Regions from separate parts of the Homo sapiens genome. Here region 1 is linked to region 2. Evidence: promoter capture Hi-C in human tissues and cell types (Jung and others, 2019). All regions are on one chromosome and are shown on one strand. Each heading gives the region's core, a stretch centred on a gene start or on the middle of the fragment in contact. The rest is flanking DNA. Distances are from core to core; before and after follow the strand shown. Region 1 overlaps ALKBH5 (alkB homolog 5, RNA demethylase). Region 2 holds the start of MYO15A (myosin XVA).

Region 1 (6,202 bases), core at 1,501-4,000, 83 kb before region 2:
TGCCCCCCGCCCAAAAAAAAAGGATTTCCATCATACTCAGATATCTGTTTATTTTCAACAAGTTACATGACTTTTAAAACCGCTCAGAGACCAACTAATGTGGGTAGATGACTGTCCTCTTCTCAGCTAGCGTCATTCCAATTTGAAACTCTGGAAGCAAGCTCTGAGCTTCCTATACCCCTCACATGCTATCACTGGAAGCATGGCAGCCACAAGATACTCCCACTCCAAGTTACTCTACTGAGCTGCAGCAGTTCTACACACCCAGAAACTCAGCCACAAGCCTAGTAGGACAAGTATGGCTTAGTTTCCCTACCTGGCCCTGTACCACAAACCCTTCTCTCATGGCTGCTGATCAGCTCCCTTCTCAAAGGCTAGTTGTACAGACACAAACTTAACTATTAAAAACACTGCAGGCCTGGGAAGGACCCCTCAAGATGGCCAGGCTGGCCAAACCTCAGCTCTAATAACTGGATGCAAGAGCCAACAAGAGATAAAAAGCCAGACTGCTTCAGGCTCAGCCTTAAGGAAGCACCTCTGATTTGGAAATCTGATTTGAGCTCATGCTGGGGATAGAACAAACCTTTATTTTATTTAATTTTTTTTTTTTTTGAGACAGTCTCACTCTGTCACCCAGGTTGGAGTGCAGTGGCACAATCTCGGCTCACTGCAACCTCTGCCTACCGGGTTCAAGCGATTCTCCTGCCTCAGCCTCCCAAGTAGCTGGGACTACAGGCGCACCCCACCACGCCTGTCTAATTTTTGTTATTTTCAGTAGAGATGGGGTTTCACTATGTTGGTCAGGATGGTCTTGAACTCCTGACCTCGTGATCCGCCAGCCTCGGCCTCCCAAAGTGCTGGGATTACAGGTGTGAGCCACCGCGCCCGGCCCAAACCTTTATTTTATAGATCCACCTTCTCCCTCAAGCTGCTCCTAGACAAGAATTTTTCAAAATTTTCTCCATGAACACCAGTCCCATAAGAGACAGTAGACAGGCTAGGCACGGTGGCTCACGCCTGTAATCCCACCCAGCACTTTGGGAGGCCAAGGTGGGCATGTTGCCTGAGGTTAGGAGTTCGTAACCAGTCTGGCCGACATGGTGAAACCCCGTCTCTACAAAAATACAAAAATAAGCCAGGCATGATGGCAGGTGCCTGTAATTCCAGCTATCGCAGAGGCTGAGGCAGGAGAATCGCTGAACCTGGGAGGTGGAGGTTGCCGTGAGCCGAGATAGTGCCACTGCACTCCAGCCTGGGTGACAGAGTGAGACTCCGTCTCAAAAAAAAAAAAAAAAAAAAAAAGAAAAAGACAGTGGACGAATGTCTACAGTGAAATCAATTTGTAAAATACTGATTAGAGTTTCAAAAAGCATTAATATATTTAAAGCACATGAGAATTACTACAGCAAAAGAACCCACTGACTTTGAGCACTTACCAAAGAACCTTCTCTCATAATACCTATTAATACCCATCAGCCCACAGTGAGAAGTACCACACAGGAGTTAGTGAGTTGAAGAGACCTGGGTTCAAATGTGAGCTTTGTCTCCTACTAGCTTTGTGACCTTTGTTAAATCACATGCTGAACCTAAAAACCTGTACAGTTTCTTCATCTGTAATAAGGAGAACAGTAGGTTCTTGGGTATTCATTTTGTTATGCTTTATAATTTAGCTATTCTTTTGCTGCTACTAATATTACAAGATTTTAAAAATGGGGACAGTTTTAAAGATTACAAGATTAAAGTTTTTAAGATTACAAGATTTTAAAAACGGGGCCTCCTCCCTTCCAGGCAGAAAAACAGCATTATATGACTACTTGGTTGACACTCCTGGAAAGGGGTGGTGAGAGGCCTACCTGCAGGGGTATTGCGAGAATTAAGTCAGATAATGCAGGGTGCCTGACACCCTACAATCTTTACTAAGCACTCTGACAAAAGTCAGAGGGCCCTGGACTATCCTGGGGCAAGCCAGAGCCCTGGATTCAGCATCTGCCAAAGAGACATGGTCTGGGCTCCCCCTGCAGGGATCTGCCAGTAGTGGGGGCCGCCTGGGCCCCATTTCCAGAGCTAGGAACTCTAGTTCTCATCCCATGCTTTTATCATTCCACACTGGGGGAATGGGGGTCTAGACTGCAAGACTGTCCCATATAGACACACAATACTTTCCCAAAGAGCTGTCAAAGGTCTCAAAGGCACTTTTTTTTTTTTTTAAAGACAGAGTCTCACTCTGTTGCCCAGGCTGGAGTGCAGTGGCATGATCTTGGCTCACTGTAACCTCCACGTCCCAGGTTCAAGCAATTCTCCTGCCTCAGACCCCCAAGTAACTGGGACTACAGGCTAATTTTTGTATGTTTAGTGAAGACTGTTTCCCCATGTTGGCCAGGCTGGTCTCGATCTCCTGATCACACGTGATCCACCCACCTCGGCCTCCCAAAGTGCTGGGATTACAAGTGTGAGCCACCATGCTCGGCCCCAGAGGCACGTTTCTAAGTCCTGAATCTGCAGTGCTGGCTACAGGCAACCTTCCCTGCCATTGACAAGTGTTATCAATCTGTTTGACTTGGCTATATGCATAACCAAGGGCCCTGACTTCCCATCTCCAACAAGGAACCACTTTTCTTAATGCAGTTCTGGAGCAAATCCAGATGTTTGTCAAAGCTTGACTGCCCGCATGCTCCCTGACCCCATCCCCCAAAGGGCTCTAGAACAAACAATAAGCCATGTCAGGTTCCTGCCACGGAGCCCAGGCCTTGGAAGAACTAGTATGGAGGTAGGGCTGCACAGGCCCACAAAAATGACTTTGGCACTGACCCAACCTGGAAGGCTTATTAGTACTGGTCTTCTAGAACTTCCTAGCAGCTATGACACAGCCCACTGACCCTTTCCTCAGAATATCCGGCTGCTCTGGCAACATGAGCTCAAAGTCCTGATTAAGGGAAGCTCTCCTGGCCAATCTCACAAAATGTCGAGCAGAGACCACAGGGTATTATTTACTATTAAGGAACCTACTTGCTACAAAATAAATTGTCTGAAAGTCTCAGTCGGCCAGCTTGCAACTTAATATGCCCTTGGGTCCAGCCCTACTGCTGGCATGAAAAGTTCCAGGACCTCCTGCTTTTTTGTTTTCACAGGGAAAGGAGAAGAGGAAATAACCTTATGCCATCTGGCTTGCCTGCTCCCTCTCTGGGCTGAGCCCCCAGCCCCAGCCCCAGAGGCACTGACCAGTATATGTTGCAAATGTCACCCACTAGTCCTATACCTCAGAGTGACTCTCGAAGGAGCTGACATGTCTATCTCCTCTTTTGGGGGCCTTTCCCTGACTGCCCAGGCTGGGTTCCCCCTACATTGCTCAACCACACCCTCTCATGCCTCTTTGCTATTCCATCTGGCCTTGTGGAAATTGTGTCTTCCCTTCAAGACAAAGCTCTTCAAAGGCCTTACTCATCCCTGCACAGTGGACACTAAATGAAATGTGTGTTGAGCTGAACTATTCTACCACTTAGAACCTGTTTCTGCCTCTGCAAAACAAAGATCACAGCAAGCCCCTCCTCAGAAGATTAGGTGCAAATTAAATGAGGTGTCTGAAATTTTTTTTTTTTTTTTTTTTTTCGGAAACAGAGTCCCACTCTGTTGCCTAGGCTGGAATGCAGTGGCGCAATCTTGGCTCACTGCAACCTCTAGCTCCTGGGTTCAAGCAATTCTCTGCCTCAGCCTCCCGAGTAGCTGGGATTACAGGTGCCTGCCACCACGCCCGGCTAATTTTTGTATTTTTAGTAGAGACGGGCTTTCACCATCTTGGCCATTCTTGTCTTGAATTCCTGACCTCAGGTGATCCACCCGCCCTGGCCTCCCAAAGTGCTGGGATTACAGGCATGAGCCACCGCACCTGGCCCTGAAAAATTCTTTAAAGAAACTATGCAGGACTGTACATCTCTCCTCTAGGGGACGGTCTTGGAAACTGAGTTGTTATGACACATTTCCAAGATGGCCACCATTTTCCATCTACTCCATGCCCTGCCTAGGCCAGGATGAACCAGAGATGGAGGGACTGTCCAAGATCCCAGCCTGGTGACTGTCTCTCTCCAGCTATGGCTACCTGCCTTACTGACAGACCCACAGGACCAAGAAGGTCAGGCTTTTGGGGGCAGCAGACCAGCCACCTGGACCCAGGGGCAGGATTGTGAGCTCAGGCTCAATTATTTACCAGACCCAAGCCTCCAAGACGACCCATGGCCTAACTTTATAAGAAGTCCTGGGGCTTTCTGAATCCAGAGGGAAGGTCAACCTGCCAAGTCCCAATTCTGTACACACCAAGATAGACAGTACTAAACACAGAAGGTAGCCCATCTCCTGAGACACTTTTAGCTAAATTTCAAGCATTCAATAGATGACAAAGATTCAACTTTCTATAACAACTCTATAGCATCATTAGACTGGTTTTGCAGATGAGGAAAACTGAGGCCTCAAAAAGCTTAATTTCCCCGAAGTCAACGAGTTAAAATGGTGGTGCTGTAACTCCAACCAAGTCTGCTGTCAAACTTTCTGGATTTTGTTGTGGAGGCGGTAGGAAGAAAAGCCCATCTGTGTTTCCTGGTAGCAAGCCTGTCCAGGGGGCCTTGCTGGCCTCACCAAAGGGCACACGTACACCCACTAGCCCCATGAAAGAGATTTGCAGAGATGAACCTATATCCCCCAGAGAGCTAGCACTGTATCAGTGAAGGCTATCCACCAACTGGCCAGCCAGCTCTGAATTTTCTTTTTCTTTTTTTTGAGACGGAGTCTTGCTCTGTCGCCCAGGCTGCCAGGCTGGAGTTCAGTGGCATGATCTCGGTTCACTGCAAGCTCCGCCTCCCGGGTTCGTGCCATTCTGCCGCCTCAGCATCCCAAGTAGCTGGGACTACAGGCGCCCGCCACCACACCCAGCTAATTTTGTTTTTTGTATTTTTAGTAGAGACAGGGTTTCACCATGCTAGCCAGGATGGTCTCGATGTCCTGACCTCGTGATCCACCCACCTCGGCCTCCCAAAGTGCTGGGATTACAGGCGTGAGCCACCGCGCCCGGCCTTGAAATTTTTTTTTTTATTATTTTTTTTGAGACGGAGTCTCACTCTACAGCACAGGCTGGAGCGCAAGGGCTCGATCTCGGCTCATTGCAACCTCCGCCTCCCGGGTTCAAGTGATTCTCCTGCCTCAGCCTCCTGAGTAGCTGGGATTAGAGGTGCACACTACCATGCCCGGCTAGTTTTTGTATTTTTAGTAGAGATGGGGTTTTACCATGTTGGCCAGGTTGGTCTCAAACTCCTGACCTCATGATCCGTCCACCTTGGCCACCCAAAGTTCTGGCATTACAGGCATGAGCCACTAAGCCTGGCCAGCTCTGAAATTTTTATGGCCTATTTATTCTCTGCTTGCTCTGAGCTTCATGATTAACACCATGGTTCACTGTTAGCTTCCTTTCTTTTACTGCCCTCTGCCTTGTCAGGCTCTGGCAGCAGCAAGGGCAGCCAACCCCCCTGGCCCAGAGCTCCTCCTGACGGTGCACAGCCCTGACTTCATCCTGTGGTTCCTCCCCCTCCAGTGGAATCAGAAGAGTCCACACAAGAGATGTGGCCCAGGACCTATCTGCCCTACTTTCCCAACTATTTTAAGCCAGAAAGCTAAATTTTGCTTTCAACCAGCTGAACAAGATCAGACTATCCCAGAACTGACAGGGGTGCCCACTCCACCCAATACCAACCGTTAACTGGAAGAGTCACAGGCTGAGCTCACCAGTGCATGCCCCGTGCCTGGGTGATACAGTCATTTCCAGACGGCTGGCCTAGGCCTGGGTCTCTGGGCATGTGGCCACCACACCACAGACCACGTAGCAGTGATTAAAGATAGCAGCAAGTAAGCAATTAGCCTTGAAGTAATTATTCTAATTAGTCCAATCAGAGTCTGTTTTAATCTGCCCCATGCAGCCAACAGGGAATAGGAGAATGAATGACAGATAAAGTGATATGAAGATAAAAAATATTTCCCTAAAGTACAGCCTTAAGAGGGGATCCACCCAGGCCTAACATGGGAAGGTTACAAAAAACAACTGACGACTAGGTTTGGAAAGGAGTTTGAAGCACTTCCAGAAGATTCTGTGAGGCCTTGTTCTAAATGCCCAGGTTTAGACACTGCTGAGTCAATGTTTGTGACGCACCAACATCCATGCTGA
Region 2 (6,234 bases), core at 1,189-3,688:
CTGGCTAATGTTTTTTTGTAGAGACAGGGTCCCACTATGTTGCCCAGGATGGTCTTGAACTCCTTGCCCCCGGGCAATATTCCTGCCTCAGCCTCCCAAAGTGTTGGGTTTACAGGTATGATCCACTGTGCCCATCCTGGATGCAGACTTTAAGCAGAGTCACATCAACAAGAAGAGCTGTGAAGGTCAGGGCATGACCCACAGATGCCCAAACACTGCACTGGAGGTCCAGGAAGATTCTGCTGACAACGCAACCCTGAGCCAAGATCTGAAGGATAAGAGGGAGCTTATAACATGGAAGAAGGAACAGTATTCCTGGCAAGTGGAACAGCATGTGCAAAGGTCAGGTGGTAAGAGGGGCTTCAAGGACAGTCCTATGGCTGGAGCAGAGTGATTGAGGGCATGTGAAATGAGAGGTGGCCAGGGTGGCAGGCAGGGACTAGCCCAATGGCCGTGAAAGGGATGGGACTTTGGTCACTGTTTCGCATTTCCAGATGTTTACTATGTGCCAGGCTTGGTACTAAATGCTTTTCTGGAATATCTCACTAGATTCTCACATAGATGAAGGGCTTGATCTTAGAGAGGTTAGATCCCTCAGCCGAGAGCCCACAGTGAGGAAGCCATGGGGCCTGTGTCCCTGACTGCAAGACCTGTGCTCAGAACGGCCAGGCCACACAGACCTCAACTCTCACTACAACCTCCTGAAGTCGGTGTGGTTACTCTTCCCACTTTACAGATGAGGACATGGGCCCAGAGAGGTTATGTGAGTGACACAGCTTGAAGGTGGAGTTAAGCCTGGGCAGTCTGGCTTCAGAGTGTCCACAGTCTCAACCACTGCCTCACATGGCTTCTTAGAAAATATTATAAAAAGAAGCTCGGGCTGCCATGTGGAAAAGAATGGAGAGGGGACAATGACACAGCTGGGAGCATGCTGTGATGGTGTACAGCGGACACATTCAGGATGAGGTGAAACAGGCTGGCCCTGGTGAGAGGCTAGATGGGGCTGGGATGAGGGTGGAGACAAGTAGTCTTGGGGTTGGCTTGGTGCAGCTGGGGGGTGCGGGGAGTGTCTCTGAGGTGAGGCCGGGGGTATGGGAACGCCATGTTTGGTCTGGGACACGGTGGGCTTGGGATGGCTACAGGACAGTGCAGTGGAGAGTCAAAAAGGCTGCTCGGACCCAGGTCTGGCGAGATGGAAGCTGGAGGTCAGGTGAGCTGTCTAGGAGAGGGACAGAGTGGGAAGGAGAGGGTCTCGACTCGGCTTTCTTGCCAAAGGAGGGTTCCGAAATGAGAAACTGTGGAATCTAAGCTGGAGAGGAAGAAAGACGGAGAATGAGTGAACGCACACGTGTGGGACAGATAGATGAATATTCATGTCTTTGGCTCCTATGTACCTGAGTCTTCTAAAGCTGCAGGCCATACTACCCCCGGGAGGCTGCAGGGATGCCAGCTGGGAGATGAATGCAACTCTGCTGCCTGGGCATGGGCCTGAGTGAGGGTGCAGACCCCTGCCTGTGATCATCAGGGAGGGTGATGAGAACAAGGTGGCTGACAGGGTGAGGCCCAAGCCTGGAGCTTACCCAGGTGCGGGGATGGGAGGGTCAGAGACCTTTGGGGGGTCTTAGGGAGCTTCCCCAGCCCTAAAGGCACCGCAAGCTGCCACTTCACACTGACCTGGGCATACGCAGCTGCAGGATCCCTTGCTCGCTCTCTCACAAGCAAATGTAGACTGCGCAACCATCCTGACCACAGATCCAGAAAGCCCAGGACATAACAGAGCCGCAGTGCCTGCCCTGATCCACGCGCACACAGATCTAGCCCAGGAACAAGCCCATCCACGGTGAGGAACTTGTGGCCCAGTGGCTGGAGCCTCTCACCTGAGCCCTCACTGCCTGAGGACCCCCAGCCTCTGGCCTCATTTCCCACCCTTTGCCAGCCAGCCTTGGGGACAAAACAGGTCTGGATCTAATCCAAGGTCTGGACTCACCCTGACACCCTGTGAACTCAAGGCCTTCCCTACCTCACCCTGGGCCCAGAGCCCCTACCTGTAAAGTGGAAGTGGGAATGGCCACCAGCCAGGCAGAAACCCTCACTTAGGGCCTCATGGCCAGGCATCAGGACAGTCAGGAGAGGGGCCGAGGTAAGCCACAGAGGCCCTGCCTGTCTTGGTATCCCACCATCGCCAGGAGGGGACTGCATGGGCATCACACCCCTCACAGATGAACAAAGTGAGGCAGAGAAGGGCCTCAAGATGAGTTAGGGGCGAGGCCCCAGCTCTGCTGCTGCCCCTTCCCTTATCACCCCTGCAGCCTGGGATGCGAGGGTGGCCAGTGACAGACCCCAAGGACTCTAGGCTAAGGTCTCCTTACCTGCGTTCTGTGGCCTGCTCCCCGCCTGCATGCCGCCTCATGGGGGTCCTCTGGCTGGCCCAGGAGCACGGTTGGCCCAGCAGAGCAGCTCAGTGTTATGGGGAAGGGAGGCCCAGCCCACCACGCCGACCGCCTGGGGCCCTATGTATATTTAATGATGTCTATTATTCCTGTTTTGTCTCTGGAAAGGAGTGAGCAGCTGACAGGGGAGCCACGAACAGCCTGGAGAGCTGAGCATGGGCCTGCTCCACACTCCAGCGGGGCCCGAGGCCCCCGGGAACTCTACCCCTCCTGGCAGCCTCACAGAACCTGCTGCATCCATCTCAAAAGGCATACCTCCTCCAGGAAGCCTTCCCCGCTGCTCAGAGGTCTTAAATCCGGGGTCTGCACTCACAAACTGTGCAGCCTACACCAGCTTCTGGGGGACAGCAGAACACTGTGGGGGGCCTGGCACAGTCCCTGGCACACGGTAGGCACTCATCGAGCCCCTGCCAGCCCCTCTACTCCTGACTTCTGAGGCAACAGGAAATGACCCGCCACCTTGTTCTCACAGAGCCTCCCTGCCAGCCCAGATGGTCACAAGGGCCTCCTGGGATGCTGCCCACCTTGGCAGCCAGGCCCCTCCGGAGGGGCCAGTCTGGGCCTGACACCCCCGAACACCAACCCCCTGGGCAGAGCCTGCCTGTGCCTGGGTGAGGAACCCTGCAGTCTCCTTGCCACACAAGGCCTGGGTCTGCCTTGGGGCCCAGGCTGCACCCTCTCCGACCCCCAGGCCCAATGTCTGACCTGTGCCCACCTGACTCAACCTGGCTACTGTTCAGCAAGTTTACAAAGTGTTCTCAGTCTGAACAGGAACCGTTTTCAATCCTTTATTTCAGAAAGGAGAGCCAGGAGAACTGGGGACTTAGAAAATACAGATCCTAAACTCAAAAGTCCCTGCCCCAGGCGTGCAGAGCCAGGGTCCTGGGGTTTTGTGCTGGGCAGGGGCTGCCCTGGGAGGGGGAATACAGGGGGAGGCACTTTAGGACACCCCTTAGGCTGTGGAGGGTGTCAGCTGGGCCTTTGAAGCCACTAACCACTGGTTCCCATCATGGAGAGCCCTGTGTGGGGCACCCAAGGGGGTTTCCTCCTGGAAGGGCCCCCAACCCAAGTGTCAGAGAAGCTGGCAAGAGCTGAGGGAGTGAGGTGCCATGACAGCAGCCACAGCCTCCAGGGACCCAAACAGGCCCAGCTACCAGCCTGGCACTGAGCATGCCATCTGCTTTAGGCCCTGGCTGGCGGGCATGTGGGCAACTTGCTCCCTCAGTGCAGGGGGCTGGGAGGCACAGATGCAGGCTCAGCACTACAAACTCAAAACCCCCATGAGAGGGCTCAGTCTTATGGGAAATGCCTCCAACCGAGCCCCTTTGCCCCAACACACTCTTCGTCTGCCTACTGAAGAAACTTCTGTAAATAGCAGAGACTTGAGGGACCCCTTCCTGGGGTACGTGTATTTGTATTTTTCTGTTTGGGTGTTTGTGTGTCCCAGTGGGACCACCTCCCCAGGGAGACGAGGCAGGTGGGCGGGAGGCCCGGCAGGCGCCGTTACTTCTTCACGATCTGGATGACGTCCTCATGCTCCATGGTGTGGGTCAGGCCCACCCGCTGCGGACTGTACTTGGTGCTGGTGCCCTGGGTGAGGAATGGGGGCAGAGGGGTCACCTCAGCCTGGACTGGCCAAGGTCAAGGAAGATATCCCTGGGCGTGTGTGTCCTGAAGGGTAAATGCCATGGCATAAGGTGGGGGCCTCAGGCAGCAGGATGTCCGCAGTTGTCTGACCATCCCTGATCTCAAAGGTTGGGGAGGGCCAGGCACAGTGGCTAATGCCTGTAATCCCAGCACTTCTGGAGGTCAAGGTGGGAGGATCACTTGAGCTCAGGTGTTTGAGACAGCCTGGGCCAGATAGCGAAACCTTGTCTCCATGAAAAATTAGCCAGGCATGGTGGTGTGTGCCTGTAGTCCCAGCTACTTGTGATGCTGAGGTGGGAGGATCGCTTTTGCACAGATGTCGAGGCTGCACTGGGCCATGATCGTGCCACTGCACTCCAGCGTGGGAGACAGAGCCAGACCCTGTCTCAAAAAAAAAAAAAAAAAAAAACCAGAAAAAAAAAAGGGTGGGGAAGGCCCATGTCTACCCTGGGTTGGCATGTACATTCTATGGAGGACAGACACACAGACATGCCAATCCCCACAGGAAGGACAGGAACACCACGCAGAGAGTGTGAATGCCTTGCTTCATGCCTAACCCAGGGGCTGTCCTGGGTCTACCCCCCTGGTTGCTTTCCACCCAGAGACTCACCCACACCAGGGCGTACTTGAACTGGCTGGCGAGTGACCGGTGGATGCGGTGGCACTGGAGGACAGGAGAGAGTCAGGTAGAGAGGTGAGGCTTCACCTAACCCCATCCCAAGCTTGGCTGCACACCCAAAGCTCAGGACACAGGCCAAGAGGCAGGAGTTCCCGCGGCAGGTGCCCACACAGTCTGGGCCTTGTGTGGAGGACTGACGTGCTCAATTCGCACATAGCCACCCAATCACAGCTGCAGGTGGCCCTGCCATTCCCACTCCTGATCTGCCAGCTGTGGTGCATAGTTAGGAATGTTCCCAAAGCCACCAGGGGAAGGTCAGGGGCCTGGCTGCTAGTGGCCCTCTGCTTGCCTTGCCTGAACAGATGCTCCTTTAGAATGGGACAGGGTGATAGCTTGGAGTCCCCCCTGCTTGGTCACCATCTCTCACTCCTCCTGGCCCCACCTGTGGCCTGAAGCTTCCCACACATCACATCACCCCCAACTCCCAGGGCAGTGTATAAACTTCAGTGCTCCTTGGTAGGGGTGAAGATCCCAGGGGTCCCAGATGTCATATAAAACTGGAAGGAGACCCTGGAGGAGGCAGCCAGCAATTGCCCTGAGAGTGTAGACCTCTGGTTGCCACGCTGATGGTGGCACAGTGGAGGGCGGTGGGGAGGGGACTCTGCAATTGTGCAATGTGACTCCTCCTCCCACATGCCCACAGGTCTTCCAGGCCCTGGTGGGAGACCCAACACCTCAGCCCAGCGTCCCTGGGGCGGAGGCCGGCGCCAGGCCTGCAGGAACACTTCCTTGACACAGATGGGAAGGTGGCTGACTCTGGTCTGCAGATGGGTTTTGTTTTACTCAGCTTGCCCAGCATTGCCACTTGTGAGTGACTGAAGGGATTCAGGAGGGTAATCGTGAGTCTCCTTGGCTCCTCCTGCTGTGATCTCAAGCCTAGGCCCTGAGGGAGATGGGACTTTGCCTGGCCTCCTTTGTTTAACACCTCTAGGGTGGCACTCAGAGACCTGGGGCTGGGCTTGCGGAATGAATGAATGCATGAGACCAGATTACAGGCCCTGCCACCACTGTCCTAAGGGGCTGCAGGGACAGCTGGGTCTACAGCATCCCTTGCCTCCAGGATACAGATCCCAAGAAGAAATGAGCTAGAGGAAAACAACACCAGGAAAGCATCAGCCCAGGAGGACGGCCATGTGACCTGAAGGTTGGCCACCATCTGTGCCTGCAGGGTCATGTTCAGGTGACAGAATCCTGGACAGGGAAAGGCAGCCTCTTGCTCCCTGAGCCCAGACCACCTCCCCTGGGGCCTGTGCATGCCTGCTCCCCTACCTGGGATGCTCCCCACCCCAACTCTTCACTGCCAGACCCACTAGTCCTATAAGCCGGCTCAGGTTGCCTCCTTGAAGCCGCTGTCCTGACCTCTGTGTTAAGCTGGTGCCACTCCCTACTCTCCTTGACTGATGCCTGAATGGCATGGAAGCAGGGTTACTGGCATCTCTGCAAAGCCAGGCAGCATGC

What was found. Contacts are between HindIII fragments. The study calls those that stand out against the background at their distance.
Region 1: a contact is called between a fragment that was not itself captured here and the fragment with the promoter of MYO15A in region 2, in 5 of the 25 tissues and cell types used here (liver, lymphoblastoid cells, mesendoderm cells and 2 more).

What each region holds. Positions count from the first base shown.
Region 1 is chr17:18,187,955-18,194,156 of GRCh38, reverse strand. The region is part of intron 1 of ALKBH5 (alkB homolog 5, RNA demethylase); the gene reads right to left. Among named protein-coding and RNA genes, the nearest start is that of ALKBH5, 7.2 kb to the right of the region's middle. The HindIII fragment of the contact is 6,402 bases long and covers 1-5,951 here.
Region 2 is chr17:18,104,960-18,111,193 of GRCh38, reverse strand. It overlaps MYO15A (myosin XVA), which reads right to left and starts at 2,438. Exons shown (of 66, transcript NM_016239.4): 1 at 2,370-2,438. It overlaps DRG2 (developmentally regulated GTP binding protein 2), which reads right to left. Exons shown (of 13, transcript NM_001388.5): 12 at 4,708-4,761; 13 at 3,225-4,040. The coding sequence ends at 3,954. LOC105371566 (a long non-coding RNA gene) reads left to right here. Exons shown (of 3, transcript NR_164159.1): 2 at 116-342; 3 at 2,559-3,503. RefSeq lists an enhancer at 3,495-4,142. The HindIII fragment of the contact is 16,274 bases long and covers 1-4,995 here.